Regions from separate parts of the Homo sapiens genome. Here region 1 is linked to region 2. The links are contacts of gene promoters, found by promoter capture Hi-C in blood cells and fetal thymus (Javierre and others, 2016). All regions are on one chromosome and are shown on one strand. The core of a region is centred on a gene start or on the middle of the fragment in contact, and the rest is flanking DNA. Distances in the headings are between cores, read along the strand shown. Region 1 overlaps LOC105377700 (a long non-coding RNA gene). Region 2 holds the start of GABRB2 (gamma-aminobutyric acid type A receptor subunit beta2).

Evidence for each region. The method cuts DNA at HindIII sites, captures the fragments that hold promoters and counts their contacts. A CHiCAGO score of 5 or more calls a contact.
Region 1: a fragment that was not itself captured here is called in contact with the fragment with the promoter of GABRB2 in region 2 in 1 of 17 cell types (M0 macrophages); the score reaches 5.3 in M0 macrophages.

What each region holds. Positions count from the first base shown.
Region 1 is chr5:163,362,099-163,364,871 of GRCh38, forward strand. All of the region lies in intron 1 of LOC105377700 (a long non-coding RNA gene), which reads right to left. Among named protein-coding and RNA genes, the nearest start is that of CCNG1, 74 kb to the right of the region's middle. The HindIII fragment of the contact is 231 bases long and covers 1,286-1,516 here.
Region 2 is chr5:161,544,984-161,547,974 of GRCh38, forward strand. It overlaps GABRB2 (gamma-aminobutyric acid type A receptor subunit beta2), which reads right to left and starts at 1,742. Exons shown (of 10, transcript NM_001371727.1): 1 at 1,584-1,742; 2 at 1,339-1,430; 3 at 244-311. The coding sequence starts at 1,660. The HindIII fragment of the contact is 2,842 bases long and covers 1-2,447 here.

The DNA of each region.
Region 1 (2,773 bases), core at 151-2,650, 1.8 Mb after region 2:
TAAATATCTCAAAAACCATTGATTGTGGTTTGGGATTTTTTGTTTTTGTTTTCATTCTGAGTTTGGGTTCATTTTTTTGTTTTGGGGGGTTTTTTGCTGAATTTTTTCCAAGTCTGTATTTTTCCAGTATCTTCCAGATACTAATCACCTTCCAAGATTGCAAGTTTTTTGTCTTCAACTGACAATTAATTCATTAATTTAAGGGAGAACTATGGCTTGGTTAATATCATCTGCCTTTTTTTTTTTTTTAGATTTCTCAATGCATTAACTATGCCTCTAAAAATTAGAGAGCTTAAACATACACCAACTATTCTATGAAGTTGCAGAAAGGTTGAATGTTGTTTTGTTTTGAAGCCAATTTTATAATCTTGAAAAATCAAACTACTACTTCTTAAATACACATAGTATCATAAATTCAAAACGTCTCCCTGATCTGTATTTGGTACCCCAAGTTGATGACAGGGTCCACTGACCATTATTATCAATAAGTGTGTGCCAGCCATCAACAGACAGCACAGTATTTAAAAACCTTAAAAATTTTCATTCTTCCTACTCTCTGAGAAAATGTTTCCTATAGAAGGACATTTACAATCATCAGGCTAGCAAGTCTTGATCACTGGACTGAACTATTAGCATATATAAAGTCAAATATGCCTTTGCAGATGCTCATAAACAAAATATCCATTCCTTTGCCCTCCCCGCTAAGAAACACCATTTTTATATTGTTACGTGAAAAGATTTGGAGCCATGCTGATAAAAGCTAATTAACTGAGCAGTTACTATTTACCAGGCACTATGATAAGCACTTCAAATTCAAATATCAATTTATCATCATGACAGCCTGTGATAGCGGTTTCATTATCATTCTCATTTTACAATTTAGAAAACTGGTGATTAATGATTAACTGGCTGAGATCTAACAGTTATTAAGTAACAGAGATGAGGTTTGAATTTGTGGTCATCTGACTTCAACTCCTGTGCTACAAGTTTTCCTCCAAATTATCAGATTCTGGTGAAGTACAATGAGAACTGGGCTGAGATCCAAGAGATAAAAATGTTCTTCTCTCAGCTGTGATACAAAGTAACTGGGTAGTTTTGACCATGATATTTACCCTCTTTGGGTTTCCGTTTCCTCTTCTATAAAGAGTGGTAATTGGACTACTAGATGAATAATAAAATTGCTTCCAACACTAATATACCATGATTTAAGAGCAGCCACTTTGCACAAAAAGAGGAATAGAAAGACAATGGGAGCCATCTGGATGTGAAAATGATGAATGGCAAAAGCTTTTGGAGGGGATAGTCTCAGATTAGCATTCAGTGCCTTGGGGCCCACACACCACATTGCCAGTCTCCTGCAAATTGCCTGCAGCTGCACTGACCTAGCCTCTTAGACTGCAGAACCCTTGACAAAGTGTTCAAGGTATTTAGCCTTGGGTTTCCCTAAGAACCCATCTAACCCATAAAAATTAGAGGTCTTGTAATTTTGCCAATTTTGCTGTTAGAAGCGTAACAAAGCTTTTTTGTCTGAACTAAATTATCCCTTCATTCCAGATAGCAAGAATGCCTTTGCAAATTCTTTCTAGAGTAGCTGATAGTAGAGGATTTTCACATCAGTGAAAAAATGAAAACCATCTAAAGAAACAATCATAATGATATCATGATGGAAGAAAAGCTGTGTTAATCTCAGAAGCTATGTGTCTGTATCCACTTTTATAGGGTCATGCCTCAAAAATTCACCTCAATCCATAATGCCCAAGATTTCTACAGAATTTTAGGGATTTATATTCTCATTATTACTACTTCCTCTTATTTAGAAATCCTTCTTAAGTCTCAGTCTCACTCATGCTAGCCTCCCATTATGTTCTTTCTACCCTGCATGAACCCAAACATCTTCCAAATTATGATTCCCACAGGGCAGCGCTGGTGATGACAAAAGAGGATCTCTTCATAGCATACAGAGCAAACAGTCCTAAATCTAATATTACAAATCTCTGTTCTTAAAAATTTCAAAGCCATCTTTGCCATTGGGAATTTTTCAATGGCTATATTTTGTCTTGAAGTCCTGGCATCTCTCATCAGGTTGCCTGGCCCTCTCTTCATCTCCCTGGACCCTTGGGATACTCTCTCAAAGTCATATATCCCAAATGTTTTTATGCAGAAATGCTGGCTACTTCTCTTGCATTATCCTTCCAGACCATGTCTAGTGCCTATTTCTTCATACCCAAAAAGAACTCTACTACTGGCATGCCAATTTATAGTAAATTACTTTCAACTACATTGTCTGCTACCCAATCTTTGTACAATTATGTTATTGGAATATAAGTGGGAACTTTATGGCCCAGTCTCACCACAGTGTATTATTCAAACAAACAAAAAGCAATTCTGATTCTGACTCTTCAAGTTAACTGAGAGATTTGATTTAAAACAAAGTAATACTTTACTGCTTCACACTGATAGTGGCAGGAGGCAGACAAATGCCTAGGCAGATAGGGGTGGGTCCTTGGTGAAACCCCACCTTCAAACCAAAGACAGTTTAAAGTCTGAAAGCCAAGCTACAAGTCTTGAATAAATCCATGGACCAGATTAAGAGCCTCTCTTCCCATCTGGCATGCTTTCCTATCATTGATCCCTACCCCTTCACCTATTTACATATACTTACCCTTCCCTAATTGTTTTTTAACACTGTTATGTCCATCTTTGAGTGGTGGCTTTGTTTTAGCCTTTTTTGCATACTCACAAACCAATCAGCACGCACTCACCCATTCTGAGC
Region 2 (2,991 bases), core at 492-2,991:
TACACATGAATGTGTGATGCATTTTACTCCAAGTATCTGAACCAGGTTGAAAAAATCCTTAGGGACCAGAAAGAGTCAACTCTCTAACCTCAACACAGGGTATTCTAGGGTGAAATTCCATGCTCTCACCCCCACCTCATACACATAGCCAAGCACACCCCCACCCCCAATAGCTGGCTCATTTCTCCTTCCTGTCCCCAAACGAAAGTTTGCAAAGAAGTAGTCATAAATGTCAATACTCACCATATTGACTTCAGAAACCATATCGATGCTGGCAATGTCAATGTTCATCCCCACAGCCACGGGGGGACCTGCAAAGCAAGACGGCCAGCCACGTGATTTCTTTGAACTTCATTCATTCTCAGCAAGAGTTATCCCTGAGCATAAGACACTCTGCCCAAAACCCTTCTGCACTACTCAATCTCAAATTTTTCAATTCTCTGCTTTTTTTGTTAAAAAAAAAAAAAAAAAAGGTAGCAGGCACACACTCCTCTAACAAATGCTGTATTGAATATGCACACACGTATGCTGTGAACAAGGGATTCCAGCTCTGTCTACATATGCATATGTCTCAGCATGTGAATGCACACAACTCACAGAAGCACAAGAATCCTTCTAGTCTAAGGGATTTTTATATTTTGCGCTGAAACCCCCTCCTCCTCAGTCTTTCCCACCCCCTTCTGTGCACAGGTTTTAACTCTTTGAGCTTCATAAGAGTCTGAAGCAATATTAAGTGAGTCTATCAGCATATCTAGGGCTGCAGCCAGAGAGAGATTCTTCTTTCCCCTACCTTCTCTAACCCTCCCATTTTCTCCCTACCCTCCCATCCCCCAGTCCTCCCCATTTCTGTGAGGCTGGGAGGAGTGGATTATATCCAGACATGAGCCACTGTAACCCTGGCCAGAAGAACTCTTCCAAAGTAGGCAGGCACAGGGGGTTAACGCCACCTCTCAACCAACTGCCTGCACGTCTTGTCCTAAAAAATGTTAACGGTGGCCTTCCGCAAGCCGGGTTCTCTCGGCACACCATTAACTAAACTTAAGAGGTTTGTGTCTCAACAAAGCAAAGGCAGGGAAGCAAAGGATTCATAACAGTGAAGCTGAAAGACAGCAGTCACCAAATTTGAGTACACACTAAGAGGGTCTCATTGAAAGACCACGGAAGTGGTGGGTAGCAATAATCCAGCTTAAGTTTTGATCAGTTTCTCAATATGGTAAAATAGAGACACATTCAGGACACCACATGCACCCACAACTAGGGAGAGGGAAGAGAGCGCGCACAAAGCTCAAAAGACAGCTTCGGCTGTGGCTGGACTTATTTGCAAGGCAACCCCATTACCTCCAAAATCTGGTCTCAGACGAATGTCATAGCCTTTCAGGAGTCTATCCACCGTCTCTTTAACCAGCGACATATTACTAGGGTCATTGACACTAAAGAAAGAAATGACAATAAGCAGGCATCAATAAGGAAGCAGGCATAGCGTTTTCAGCATCGGATCCCTACTACATTTCCCTGCTCACAGAGGTATGCAGACAGAACCCTTCAAAGTGAGAACGGAAAAGAGAAACGCTGGGCACACTTACCTCTGCGCACAGACAGCGGCGATTATTAAGGGGAAGGACCAAATCCCAAAGTAGCCCCTTTTCCGCACTCTCCACATCCCTTTAGTTTTTGATGGAATTGAGGGTTTCACTGAAGAGAGGAGATCCAACTTAGTCTGCCCAGTGCAGTAATTCTAATGTGAGGCGCATGCGCACGGCGTACCAAAACATCAAAGGGGAAGCGGCGGCTGCCGGGGACCGAGCAGATTTCCTTGTTTAAAAAAAAAAAAAAAAATTAAAAGGGAAAAAGGAAAAACATGTATATGTATAATACATACATATTTGAATAATATAGAAAAGTCACCCCACAGCAGCATCCAGAATAAAATTTTTGTTGTTATCCTTTCGTTAAGACAAAATAACTACAGCGTCTGGTAAGTTTCGGTAGTTGCAAGAGGCAGTTTTGCACCGAGCGGGTTGTGGGTTTTTGGTGTGTGTGTGTGTCCTTTTAAATATGCAAAACCAGATTAGAAAATTAGAGGAGAGCAGGTGTGGCGTGCCAGCGGAAGATAGGTGCCGGTAAGCCCACTTCTGGTCTCAGCCGGACACGGGGCAAGGAGTTTGAACTTTATTTCCTTGGCAAATAGCATGCCCTGCCTGGGGCGAGACTGGGATGGGGGGGGCGGGGGTTGTGCAGCGGGTGGGAGGAGGGGGGAGGGGGCGTTGGGAGTCGAAGCGGGAGGGAGGGAAAAAACCAATGGGAGGAATGCTGAGCAACCCGTTGGATTTGGGGCGGGGGGTTGGGGAGGCGGGTACAGAATAAGAAAGGCACGGAAAAATAAAAAAGGAAGAAAGAGAAAGAAAAGAATAAAATAATGGCTGGTCTCTTCTAGTAGTCAAAGAGCAAGCTTTTCTTCACTACTCACGAGCGATTTCTTTCTCCTCTCCTCACCCTTTGCCCCCTATTCCCAGAGAAGAAAACCTCGGGGTCCTGTTTTCTCGCCGTGTGACGTTCCTGACCCGCTAGTCCGGGTTATTTATAGCAGGAGGGGAGGGGGGCGAGGGGAGCAGAAAGGCAATGCTGTCTCTCCAGGTTTCGGTCTGATTCTGCAGTGGGAATTATTAGTGGGCAGGGTGGGGTTTGCATGAGGGGGAGATGGGACGTGGAGGCGTGAGGGATGCGGGTGACGGGCGCCCTAGCGCAGGTGCGGGGGACTGGAGGGCGTGGGCGACCGCACAGAGCAGGAAGGGCAGGTGGCCGGGTGGGACGCGCCCCGGCCGGTCCCCCAGCGCCCCCTCCGCTGCGCGCACCCGCGCGCACACACGTGCAGGCGCACTCCCCACCCGCCGCCATCCCTCCTTACCTCGCAGGCCCGCGCTCGCCGCCCACTCCCGCGGCGTGCGGAGCTGGCGCCCCCGGCCCCTCGTCCGGGACAGGGGACGGGGACTC